Regions from separate parts of the Homo sapiens genome. Here all the other regions are linked to region 1. The links are contacts of gene promoters, found by promoter capture Hi-C in blood cells and fetal thymus (Javierre and others, 2016). All regions are on one chromosome and are shown on one strand. Each heading gives the region's core, a stretch centred on a gene start or on the middle of the fragment in contact. The rest is flanking DNA. Distances are from core to core; before and after follow the strand shown.

The links. Contacts are between HindIII fragments. The CHiCAGO score rates a contact against its expected background, and 5 or more counts as called.
Region 2: a fragment that was not itself captured here is called in contact with the fragment with the promoter of CGREF1 in region 1 in 4 of 17 cell types (naive B cells, M1 macrophages, endothelial precursors and 1 more); the score reaches 6.5 in naive B cells.
Region 3: a fragment that was not itself captured here is called in contact with the fragment with the promoter of CGREF1 in region 1 in 1 of 17 cell types (endothelial precursors); the score reaches 5.9 in endothelial precursors.
Region 4: a contact is called between a fragment that was not itself captured here and the fragment with the promoter of CGREF1 in region 1, in 10 of 17 cell types (naive B cells, megakaryocytes, total B cells and 7 more). The highest score is 8.2, in naive B cells.

The regions. Positions count from the first base shown.
Region 1 is chr2:27,117,691-27,120,876 of GRCh38, forward strand. It overlaps CGREF1 (cell growth regulator with EF-hand domain 1), which reads right to left and starts at 1,438. Exons shown (of 6, transcript NM_006569.6): 1 at 1,156-1,438. RefSeq lists enhancers at 370-870, 871-1,371. The HindIII fragment of the contact is 4,689 bases long and covers 1-3,186 here.
Region 2 is chr2:27,341,921-27,345,106 of GRCh38, forward strand. GTF3C2 (general transcription factor IIIC subunit 2) reads right to left here. Exons shown (of 19, transcript NM_001035521.3): 2 at 1,388-1,658; 3 at 906-1,227; 4 at 28-313. The coding sequence starts at 1,634. Among named protein-coding and RNA genes, the nearest start is that of GTF3C2-AS1, 8.0 kb to the left of the region's middle. The HindIII fragment of the contact is 754 bases long and covers 1,344-2,097 here.
Region 3 is chr2:27,321,336-27,324,521 of GRCh38, forward strand. It overlaps MPV17 (mitochondrial inner membrane protein MPV17), which reads right to left and starts at 1,762. Exons shown (of 8, transcript NM_002437.5): 1 at 1,717-1,762; 2 at 1,113-1,187. The coding sequence starts at 1,182. RefSeq lists enhancers at 1,157-1,206, 1,217-1,306, 1,317-1,366, 1,417-1,476, 1,599-2,571 and 2 more. The HindIII fragment of the contact is 4,230 bases long and covers 1-3,186 here.
Region 4 is chr2:27,289,719-27,292,904 of GRCh38, forward strand. The region is part of intron 1 of TRIM54 (tripartite motif containing 54); the gene reads left to right. Among named protein-coding and RNA genes, the nearest start is that of TRIM54, 8.9 kb to the left of the region's middle. The HindIII fragment of the contact is 2,045 bases long and covers 526-2,570 here.

The DNA.
Region 1 (3,186 bases), core at 188-2,687:
GCCCTGGGATCTGAATTTTTTTTTTTTTTTTTTTTTGAGGCGGAGTCTCGCTCTGTCGCCCAGGCTGGAGTGCAATGGCACGATCTCGGCTCACAGCAAGCTCCGCCTCCCGGGTTCACGCCATTCTCCATTCTCCTGCCTCAGCCTCCCGAGTATCTGGGACTACAGGCGCCTGCCACCACGCCTGGCTAAATTTTTTTTGTATTTTTAGCAGAGACGGGGTTTCACCGTGTTAACCAGGATGGTATCGATTTCCTGACTTCGTGTTCCGCCCGTCTCGGCCTCCCAAAGTGCTGGGATTACAGGCGTGAGCCACTGCTCCTGGTCGGGATCTGCATTTTAAAAATGAGGATAACGGTATCTGTCTCCTAAAGGTTTGGGGAGGCTGCAATGAGAAAACTTAGGGTAGGTGCCTGGCACCAAGCAGGTGCTGCTTGGGTATTTCAGAGCCTCTGGGCTGTGGCAGGGGCCTTGCAGGGTTATCCTGGGTAACTTCCCATCCAAAGCAAAAATTTCTTCCTCAGCAACCCTGTCAAATGGCCTCTGCTTGAATCATTCCAGGACAGGAACCTAGCACCTCACAGGCCGGCAGTTCCATCTCCTGTAGAGTCGAACTGTTGGGAAGCTAAAATTTTGAGTAGAATCCTCTCCCTTAATTCTTAATTTATCCCTCTGGTGCCCTTGTGCCTCCCAGCACCCATCCCCCAAGAAAGGAGACAGCGGCTACAGGGCTAGAGGAGCCCACACCCGGGAGCTGGTCCCTCGGCCACCTGCAAGCGGACGACAGCCTCGGGCCCTCCCCAGCGCTCCATTTCTTCCCCGTCGGATGAGGGGGAAAGCTCCCGCCAGCTGCCCCTCCCCCAGGACTGCTGGAACACGGAATGCGGGGCTGGGGGAAGCGCCTGGGGAACTGCGAAGCCCCAAATTCACACCAAGGAGCCTCAGGCTCGCTCTCCAGTCCCTTCCTCCACCTGCCCTCAGGGTACACAGGGGCAAGGGCCACTGCTCCCGCCGCGTCTGAGCCGCAGGGGATGCAGAGGGACTGCGCTCTCGGGATCTGGACCAGAGGCTGGAGGCCACCTACCCCGCGCGGCCCTGGCTGGCTGACGGCGATGGGCTCGGGTCTCCGGCCGGCCGGGGCGGGGTGTCACCCACCTGCTGCGGCGCCGCGCGGCTCTGGGGGTCCAGCTCCGTGGGCGCTCCTGGCTGCTGCGCCGCCCGCGCCTCGCCTCCCGCCGCCAGCCTCCCCCGGGCCGCTCCACGTGGCCGCTCCACGTCGCCCTCCCGGCTGGAGCCGCCGCCCTGGCCGGGCAGAGTCCGGAGCCAGTGCCAGCCGCCGCCCCGCCCGCCGGACCTGGCCCTTCGCAGCTCCACCAGCGCCCCCGCTGCGCCCGCGGCCGGAGGGGCTGCGCGCGCCCGTGTGAGTGTGCGCGTGTGTGCGTGCGTGAGTGCGCATGTGCGCGTGTGCGAGTCCGCGTGTGCTCGTGAGTGCGCTCGTGTGCTTGTGCGGGTGTGCACATGCGTGTGACATTGTGAGCGTGAGTGTGAGCATGTGTAAGGATGCACGTGTGTGAGCGTGCATGTGTGCGCGGATGTGTGCGTGTGCCTGTATGCACACATGTGAGTACAGAGAGACCAAGAGACAGTGAGGCCAGTGTGCATCAGAAGTATGTTTAACTGTGCTCATGCTTTGGTTGCCACTTTCTCTGCCTGAGGGACCCAGATGTATGTGACAAAATGGAACCTAACTTACTGTTAGCATGTGCGGTTGTGACTGGCATGTGTGGCTCTGTGTATGAGGAATTTGTGACACGGTAGGGGGTATTTTGTGTGACTGTGCATCCGTGTGATAGTGTGGGCTTCAGGGGCCGGGCGTGGTGGCTCACACCTGTAATCCCACCACTTTGGGAGGCCAAGGCGGGTGGATCACGAGGTCAGGAGATGGAGACCATCCTGGTTAACACAGTGAAACCCCGTCTCTACTGAAAATACAAAAACATTAGCCGGGCATGGTGACGGGCGCCTGTAGTGTCAGCTACTCGGGAGGCTGAGGCAGGAGGATGGCATGAACCTGGGTGGTGGAGCTTGCAGTGAGCCGAGATCACGCCACTGCACTCCAGCCTGGGTGACAAAGCAAGACTGAGACTCCGTCTCAATAAATAAATAAATAAATAAAAAATAAATGATAGTGTGGGCTTCAGGGTATGGCCAATGTGTGACTGACTGCCCAGGGGTGTGGCGGTGCAGAGTGTTAGAGGCATATGTATTGGGGTGTCAGGGTGAACTCTTCCTGAGTTGTTTGTGACACTCCATCACAGCGACACTGTCATCACAGCGACAAGCCCACTCTCATCCTGTCCTCCTCCCAGTGATGAACACTGCTTGTCACTGCCTTTTTAGATCACGGATTCTGCTGGTTTCGGCAATACCTCTCCTACCTCTGGTCATTTCAAAAAGGTCTCCATTTTCTTCACCGTCAGAGTTCCTCAGGGCCCTCTCCTCACTTTCCATCTGCTCATGTGCTCATCTGCTCACCTAGCTCCCATCACTGTTATGCATTGACTCGTGTCCTTCACAAAGTTATATGTTGAAGTCTTAACCTCCAATACCTCAGACTGTGACCTTATTTGGAAATAGGGTCATTGCAGATGTAATCCATTAAGATGAGGTCATACTGGAGTAGGGTGGGCCCCTAATCAATATGACTGGTGTTCATATCAAAAGAGGAAATGTGGACACAGACACACACATAGGAAGAACATTGCTATGGCCTGAATATCCCACCAAATTCATGTGCTGAAACTTAGTCCCCATTGTGGTGATATTAAGAGGAGGAAGCCAGGCACAGTGGCTCACACCTGTAATCCCAGCACTTTGGGAGGCCGAAGTGTGAGGATCTCTTGAGGCCAGGAGTTTTCGACCAGTCTGGGCAACATAGTGAGACCGTGTCTCTACAATAAATAAATAAATAAAAATTAGGCATGGTGGTGCACGCCTGTAGTCCCAGCTATTTGGGAGGCTGAGGCAGGCAGATCCCTTGAGTCCAGGAATTTGAGGTTACAGTGAGCTGTGATCCTGCCACTGCACTCCAACCTTGGTGACAGAGCGACATCCTGCCTCTGAAAAAAACCAAAAAGGAGTAGGGCCTTTTGGGACATGATGAAACCATGAGGGCTCTCCCCTCAT
Region 2 (3,186 bases), core at 471-2,970, 220 kb after region 1:
ATTCACTTTCTTGTCCATTGAGGTTACCCCTGAAGTAGATCCTCGTGGGGTGCTTCGGGGCACTACAGGCTCAGGTTCAGATGAGCTCTCACTTGGGCCCTCACTTTCTTCCACATCTTCAGCCTCAACCTGGAGAAAAAAGTCTTCATCCCGTGGAGCACCATCCACCTCTTCTCCACCTGGACAGGCTGCTGGCTGCCGGATCTTCTTCGGTTTGGTGGGGCTGCTCACCTTGGGGCCCTCAGGACAGGACACAGGGGCAGGCAGGGCTGTTGAGAGCTCTTCAGCCAGTTCCTGAAGATACAGAAGTGCCCTGTGGGAACGGACAGAGTCAGAGCCATTCTCACATATGACTGAGAACCCACGTTTCCAGACATGGTTGATTTTTATCTCAATGGAGCCTCCCAATAACCCCATGATTAACCAATTAACTCTATTAATTTCCCCTTCCCCCTTGGAAGATGAAAAACCAGAAATCTAAGTTATGTGACTTGGCCGAGATGACTGAGATAACAAATGTGGAATCTGAACCCAGGTCTTCTCACTCCAAGTTCAATACATTTTTCATCCTACCACAGTCAAAGAACACAGAGGGCAAGAGAAAGAATGGAACAGAATATATATACTGACATATACTGGACAGTAAAACAATAAAGAGCTGGGTAAAGTTTGTGAAAAATGGCATAGGACATAAAGTACAGACAATAATTCTTAGATAAACCAAGTTAGCAATACATACCATTAATAGTGCTGCGGTAAGAGCCTAAAGGACTGCTCAAGTCCCTAGAATCCAGACACCACCCCTGCTTACCTAATACCTCATCAGTCTTCTCTCTCCAACATCTGCCCCACCCTGATCCCTTCACCCAACCCCCCTCCACCAAGCTATGCCCCACAATCCTTACACTTGGGCAGCCCTTCGGCGGGGTCGTTCCCCAGAAGGGGTCTCAAAGTCCTCAGGGGGCCTCTTTGGAGATTGAGATTCTGGCCGATCTAGGTCTTTTGACAACTTCAGCAGCAGCAGCTCTGCCTTGGACTTTCGACCTCGTTTCTTAGGCATGGGGGTGGACAGAGGGTTGGATTGATCTAAGAGACCAGGAACCAGTGGGGCTGATGGAGGATTAGGCTGTTGGGGCCTTTTGGGGCCTTTTCGTGTCCTACCACCTCTCTTCCGGCCAGGCTTTGAGGCCCTAGGCTTTGAGACCTTTGACATCTCTGAAGAAAGATCTGTGGAGAAGAATATGGGTCTGTGAGATGGGACCAGAACTCAAACCTCTATGGAAAAGATTACACTGTACCCAGGTTTGTAAGATCCTATGAGCTCAATCTGCTCTTTCATCTTAAGCTTGGCATGGGGAATAAAAAGATAAGAGGACAAGGTACATACCTGGCTGTTCCAGTCTGGAGAGGCTTTCCTGCTCTGGAGGGAGCCTCCTCTGATCAGGAGAATCCTCAAATCCAGGCAAAGGGGTAGGTAATGACATCTCTACGGAAGCCTCTGCACTGGTCATTTCTGAAGAGGTCTTGACATCAAGCTGATTTAGCACCTCTTGTCCAGGAGAGTCTACCACAGTCATGTTCCCCACGGGGCCGGCCTCCCCCAGGGCAACATAGCCGACCCCGCAGGTATCCATCAGCACCCCCCAAAATGGCTGCCCCTGCATACAGAGACACACAAATGAGTAGAGGACAAAAACTATTTGTACTAGCTCAGATTTTTATTTCCCCATCTTTTCTCCCTCATTCTCACACTCATAACCAAGTTCCCTGATTATTCACTTATTCAACAATATTTACTAAGCACCTTCTATATGTCAGGACTGTTCTGGAAACTGGTAATATGAGCCAGGTGCGGTGGCTCACACCTGTAATCCCAGCACTTAGGGAGGCTGAGGCAGGAAGGCAGCTTGAGCTTAGGAGTTTGAGGCTAGCCTGGGCAACACAGCAAGACCCCTTCTCTAGCAAAATAAAATAAAATAAAAAAATTAAAAACAAAAAAGGAAACTGGTGATATGACAATAAACAAGACAGACAAGGTCCCTGCCCTCATGGAACTTACATTTTGGTGAAGCAGACAATAAACAAGTAAACAAATAAAGCTTCCATTTTTTTTTTTTTTTAAAGACGGAGTTTCACTCTCGTTGCCCAGGCTGGAGTGTAATGGGGCAATCTCAGCTCACTACAACCTCCACCTCCTGGGTTCAAGCAATTCTCCTGCCTCAGCCTCCTGAGTAGCTGGGATCAAGGTGCGCACCACCACGCCCAGCTAATTTTTGTATTTTTAATAGAGATGAGGTTTCACCATGTGGGCCAGGCTGGTCTCAAACTCCTGACTTCAGGTGATCCACCCGCCTCAACCTCCCAAAGTGCTGGGATTACAGATAATGAGTCACTGCGCCTGGCCATAAAGCTTCCATTTATTAAATGCTAACTATGTGCCAAGCACTATACTAAGTGCTATACATACATTATCTAATTTAAAGCTCATATATTTTCTTGTAAGGATGAAGCAGTGAATGCACAATTATTTAACCTCTGTCTCTGAAACCCAATGAAATAAAACACACACACACAGACATACACACACTCCAAAAAAGAAGAGAGAGAAAAATTTGTCTAGCATGAATCTAGGAAAGGGACACCAACTTCCTCAAAATATACTACAAAAAAGAGCTGCCAGATACTACAAAATTTAGACCAAAGTGAAGAGGCATACTTAATGTTAACATCTCTTTCTGTAAAGATTAGTCAAGGAATAAGTTTATTTAAGAATAAGTAAAAGGCCAGGCAGGATGGCTCATGCCTGTAATTCCAACACTTTGAGAGGCCAAGGAAGAAGGACTGCTTGAGGCCAGGAGTTCAAGACCAGTCTGGGCAACATAGGGAGACCTCATCTCTACAAAAAATTTTAAAAGTTAGCCGGGCATGGTGGTGCGCACCTGTAGTCCCAGCTACTTGGAAGGCTGAGACAGGAGGATTGCTTGAGCCTAGGAGTTCGAGGTTACAGTGAGCTATGATGGTGTTACCATACTCCAGCCTGGGTATGGTATTTTAAATAAAAACATTTAAAAATAATTTTCTGGCCAGGCACGATAGCTCATGCCTGTAATTCCAGCACTTTGAGAGGACAAGGCAGAAGGATGGCTTGAGTCCAGGAATTCAAGACCATCCTGGGCAACAGAGTGA
Region 3 (3,186 bases), core at 205-2,704, 200 kb after region 1:
ACCGGAGACTGGAGAGGGGCCCAGGGAAGGGCCAAAGAATCCATCTCCTGGCCATTCATGCAGTTAAGTTTCTGTGCCGATGCAGGGCTGTTCTGGTCACAGGATCCCTGTTCCACTCTGGCCTTCAGTAGCCCCCAATCCCTTCCAATAGTCCTCTTCTCAGAAGGCCAGTCATCACTAGAATCCTGTTCCCCTTCTCTAAACATGGGCAAGACCTCATCTTAATGTGATCACTCTTTGCACCCCAATGTTCTAAGGCCTTCTGACATTCCCCCTCTAAGACTTACTTATCTTCATGCCATCCTCTTACATTAGCTAACTTGCAAAATGAAGATGGTAACAAATGCAGGTAGGTCACTGCATTACCTCTGTGAGGTTAGTACTCAATCACTGCATTTGGAGTGACTGGTATCTGATCACTCCAAATGGATCAGGATGGAGTGATCAGATACCAATATACTAACCTTGGAGATACATATTTAGGCAGTAAATGATAACAAAAGCAAATGAACGATATAAACAAAACTCAGGAAATTTTGGGTGAATTACGGAGAGGCACTCAAGAGGTCTCAAAGCTGATTACTGACACAGGAGTGTTCAGTTTTAATGCCATTTAAACTGTACATACACATCTTAATCATTCTTTTGTATGTTTCACAATAAAAAATACCAAGAAAAACTGGGGTAAGAGTCTTGATTCAGCACTTATTAGGTGTGATCTAATGTGGACTCAAGTAACCCTCCTAGCTCACACACCTTTGTGGGGGCCCTATGCCATAACGTATATGAAAGTGCTTTGCATACGGTAAAATGTTTTCCAAGTTGAGGCCTCCTGGGGCAATGCCTTTATCCTTCAGGGCTGACTGTTCAGCTTTTTGAGGACTTTGAAATCCTAAAACCCTACTGCACAGCTTGGCCAACTACGCATACCCCTTAAAAACAGCCTTGGGGACCACCCTCCAAAACAGACTGGGGACAGTGTAGGATGAAAGACAGCCAACCCTTCAAGAGAGCCGAATAGAAACAGGAAGTGAGGGTGGTGCAGTGGGGCAAGCCTCTGGCTTCCAAATCAGTCTGCCCTGGTCCCACTCAAGTCCTAGAGGGACACTCACCAGCTGTCAGGACCTGTACTTTCCACGGGTGAGCGGCCAGGGCCCGCTGGTATGCCCGCCAGAGTGCCATGCTTCCTGTCAAGCCAAGAGGAGAGGGGGTCACCCCCACCGTCCCTCTCCACGACTAAGAAGCCGCCTGACATTCCCTTGTGCCCACTCCCTTCCCCTTCCCACTTCCAATGTGACTTAAAGGGGCAGAGGCCACATGAAGGATGCTTCCCAGACAGCTTCCTGTCGCAGGAGTCGCCTTAGACAATTGGGGAAGAGAGAAAGGCTGTGGGAAGCTATGGACTCCTGGTAGCAGCCACCAGCCACCCCAACCTCATTCCTGAAGCCAGACCACCTGGAAGCCTCCGTTCCCGACGGAGACACTCATGAGGACAGCTTTGCTCTGGCTTCTACCCAGAGCTTGGGTGCCTCAAAAGATAGCTTGGTCCGTCTCCAGATTCAGACTTGGTTGGAACCAGTTTGTAACCTTCCTGAGTCCAGCTCCAAACCGAAAATAGGGCCCGTCACTGCCCGGATATAGGATGACCACACACCTTGTGGGCACTCATGGCTTGCGACGCTTTAAGCCAGAGACCGCAGATCACCCGCCACTCACCTGAGCGCCGAGCCTCCCTCCCACGTGACAGGCTGGCCTAGGAACTTCCGCCACAAGTCCCGCCCCTTCCTCCCAGCGTCCTTCGGATTACGCAGCCAGGACAGGAATGGGGGTGGACCGAGCCATGAATACCCGTGGAGAGCGGCCTAACTCGGCCACCCACTCTGTGAGAGACCCCTTTTCCAGCTGGACTGTGCCGGACCCTGGTGTGGGGCCCGCCAGCCATATTTCTCACCTAAGTTCGACCCTCTGCCTCCTCCTGCCCCTTCTCTCCGCGCGAGACCCGGGCCTCTCTCAATCCGGTAGTCTCATTGTTCAGCCCACCCTCCCCGCATAACTGGCCATAACTACGATCCTTGTCTCAGCAATCGTAGTTAGGGAACTATAAGTTATAGTTAAGTGCGTGTTTTGTCTCTAGGTTCTTCACTGGCCTCAACTGTGAGCTCATGAGTGGGTAAAACTGGGGTCGTTCATATTTGTCGTCCTCATAGCAACTATTTCAGTGCTTTGCCGCAAACAGCCACTTAAGAAATACTGCGTATGTATGATTCTTCCACAGAAAGCATTGGAATTAGAACCTCAGAAGACATTAGGTATTGGCTCCCAAACTAACGGGCTGTGCAGCCTTGGTCATGACTAGACTTGATGTTAAGGCTCTGCATCTGTAAAATGAGGGAGGTTACACTATTGACTTTCCAAACTCGGCTCCTCAGTTCTAGGGATTTTTCAGATGTTTGTGTGTGGGGATGAGAGGGGCAGCATTACTACAGCTGCTTCTCCAACTTTTTTTTCCAAGTATATACTTCTCAAAAGACCCATTTTTAACGGGGCCCACAACTGCATGTTTGAAAACCAGTAAGCTAGGTGATTTCTTAATCCCCTTCCAGCTCTAACATTCTAAGAGTCTGTGAATATAGAGCAATATCCTTTCTAGAGCGTTGGAAATGTCTACAATATCCCTGGCAATGGACTTGTCAGGCTGGCAGGCTTTACTTATCTCCAGGGAGCCCACACGTCAGGAGGCACACTCTTTCAGGCTCTCCACCTGCCCAGCTCCACCCCCAATTTACTCAATTCCTTTATGATTAAGGCAGGGAGACTCCTGCCACAAATCCTGGAGAAACAGAGTAAGGAAGCAAGAGAAGTCAATGTCACAAACATTTAACTAAAATGCTATTTGCAAAACAGCATGCTAGAGGAGTGAACTGACAAAAGTAAATGTAATAGGAGACCAAATGTGGTAGGCTGTAAAGTTATATTCTGAAGTTAGACTGAGTTCAAATCCCCAGCACCACCACTTACTAGTTATATGACCTTGACCTTTTACAGACAGCTTACCCTCTCCAACTCTTTTATCATTAAGTAAAATGGCAATACCTACCTCATACAAGTGACACATGCGAAGTGCCTAAAATGGATCAAGTGCTTAATGCTTGTTTATCCTTTTTCCTCCCTTCCCCCTTGGGAACA
Region 4 (3,186 bases), core at 298-2,797, 170 kb after region 1:
GGAAATGTCTAAAAAGGATCCTGAGCAGTGGCACACACCTGCAGTCTCAGGTACTCAGGAGGCTGAAGCAGGAGGATCGCTTGAGCCTAGGAGTTTGAGGCCAGCCTGAGCAACATAGTGAGACACTATCTCTCTCTTTCTCTTTTTTTTTTTTTTTTTTTTTTTTTTTTTGAGACAGAGTCTCGCTCAGTAGCCCAGGCTGGAGTGCGGTGGCTTGATTTCGGCTCACTGCAACCTCCACCTCCCAGGTTCAAGTGATTCTCATGCCTCAGCTTCCCGAGTAGCTGGGATTACAGGTGCAAGCTACCATGCCTGGCTAATTTTTGTATTTTTAGTAGAGACAGGGTCTCATCATGTTGGCCAGGCTGGTCTCAAACTCCTGACCTCAAGTGATCCACCCACCTCGGCCTTCCAAAGTTCTAGAATTACAGGTGTGAGCCACCGTGCTATCTTTTTAAGAGACACTATCTCTTAAAAAAAATTTTTTTAATTAAAAAGTCTCCCAGAGGGGACAATAATGAAGAAAGCTTTGGAAACACTGGAATATAATCACCAAAATATTTAAAGCACATTTGATGGAGTAATACATGTGCTTCTTAACTAACACATTAAAGAATGAGGTCTAGCAGTGAGTCTGAACTGCTGTAATTTAGAAGTAGTGATAAGCAGCCGGGCCCAGTGGCTCATGCCTGTAATCCCAGCACTATGGGAGGGAGAGGCGGGCAGATCACGAGGTCAGGAGATGGAGACCATCCTGGCTAACACGGTGAAACCCCGTCTCTACTAAAAATCAAAAAATTAGCCGGGCATGGTGGCGGGCGCCTAGCTGAGGCAAGAGAATCGCTTGAACCCAGGAGGTAGAAGTTGCAGTGAGCCGAGATTGTGCCACTGCATCCTAGCCTGGGTGACAGAGCAAGACTCCATCTAAAAATAAATAAATAAATAAAGAAGTAATGATAAGCATACATTATTTTTTGAAATTTTAGCAACAACTGTAATGCGATATGAAAACAGCTGTGATTTCCGTTGGTGACAAAGTCACGGGCTGCTAAAACTGCTGTGGTTTTGTGCTGCTTCCCCTATATTGTGCTCCATTAAATGCTTCTGTTAAAAACCAGAGATGTTACCTATAAGGGGCAACAATTTGACCCATATAGCCAGTATAGAAGACTTTCTCAAAGTAGCCACTCAACATTTGCAAAAGGTTTGGAACACAAGTCAGACAAATTTTGGTAGAGAAAGTCAGGAAATGGTTAGCAAATTTCATTCTTATTTCACCTTCCTGATTTTTGCCATAGCTGTGTACTACCTGTACTATAATTTAATAGTTCTATTTTAAAACACTCACTTTTAGGCTAGGTGCACTGGCTCACACCTATAATCCCAGAACTTTGGGAGGCCAAGGTAGGCAGATCACTTGAGTTCAGGAGTTTGAGAGCAGCCTGGCCAACATGGTGAAACCCTGTCTCTACTAAAATATAAAGAAATTAGCTGGGCATGGTGGTGAACGCCTATAGTCCCAGCTACTCAGGAGGCTGAGGCTGGAGAATCACTTGAGCCCGGGAAGCAGAGGTTGCAGTGAGCCGAGATCGTGCCACTGCATTCTAGCCTGGGCTACAGGAGTGAAACCCTGTCGCAAAACAAAAACAAACAAACAAAAAATGACTTTTAAACCTTAAATATTTACTTTATCCTTATTCTATACAATGTAATCCATGAAAAATTGTCAGTTTTTTGTGGACTGTTTTTTTCCTAATATGCATTAGAATTAACACATAAAAAATCTTGAACATCCATCCCCATACCACCTCCAATCTTCATGCTTGTCATCAGTATTATACCATATTTTGGGAAACACAATGAGGGCGTCTAAGCAATATGAGCCAGAGGCCCTGGAAAGTCTGAAGGATAAATTTTACTATTTTATTACAAGTCAAATGTAGTCTTAATGCCAAAAAGCACATGTATGTAAATATTGGCCAGAAAGACTAGCAAAGGAAGTGGGGTTAGGATTTGGCTGGGGGCTAGCATTGCTGAAGCAATCACAGAAGGGAAGGGCTGCCCTGGAGATTAAGATGAAAGCCAGCCAGGCCCGACGGAGATATGGCAGGAGAAATTGGACTTGTGAATCAGGAGGGGACTCTGGGACTGGGGGATGAAAGCTACACGCAAAATACGGGACTGTGGTGTCAGCAGCAGGGAGCAGCACCAGCCCTGAGCAAGACGGTGGGAAAGCAGAGGTGCAGCCTCTCCCCACCGCCCTGCACCCTGAGCTCACACACTCCCGATTTCTCTCTCCCAAGACAGGAACTTTTCAAAGGACTTGGGTTGGACTGCCTGAGTACTGATGCCTCTTAGCCTTCTGGGCTCCAGAATAAATGCAATGACTAACCAATGCGATGAGCTGCTAAAGAAATTGCTTTGGCAGGTGGGAGGGTGTTGAAGAGGTGGTGTTAGTGTGCCTCCCTCAGGTCAAGTCCTGAAGTCAGTTCTGGCTGTGGGGAGTTTGAAGGAAGACATTGGCCAAGATAGCCCAAGTCCTGATTACTTTTTTCTTTCTAAAAATTGTAAGCTTGGCATGGGGTCTCACCCCTGAAATTCCAGCACTTTGGGAGGCTGAGGTAGGAGGATCGCTTGAGGCCAGGAGTTTGACATCAGCCTGGGCAACTAGCAAGACCCTATCTCTGCAGAAACTTTTTTTAAAAATTAGCTGGGCATGGTGGCACACCTGCAGTCCCAGCCACTTGGGAGGCTGAGGTGAGAGGATCCCTCGATCCCAGGAAGTTGAGACGACAGAGAGAGAGATCTTGTCTCAAAAAATTTTTTTTAATTTTTGTAAAATGCACATAACATGAAATGTACCACCTTAACCTTTTAAATGTACAGTTCAATGGCATTACATACATTTACATTGTTGTGAAACTGTCACCACTATCCATCCCCAGAACTTTATCACCACCCCAAACTGAAACCCCACACCCCTTAAACAATACCTCCCTACTCCCCCTCCTTCCAGCAACTGGCAACCACCATCCATCCTATGCCAGGTACCTCATTTAAGAGGAATCATACAATATTTGTCCTTTTGTGTCTGGCTTATTTTGCTTAGCATAATGTCTTCAAGGTTTATCCATGTTACAGACTGCAGACCTGGTTACTTTTAGCTGATAATTTCTATTGCAATCT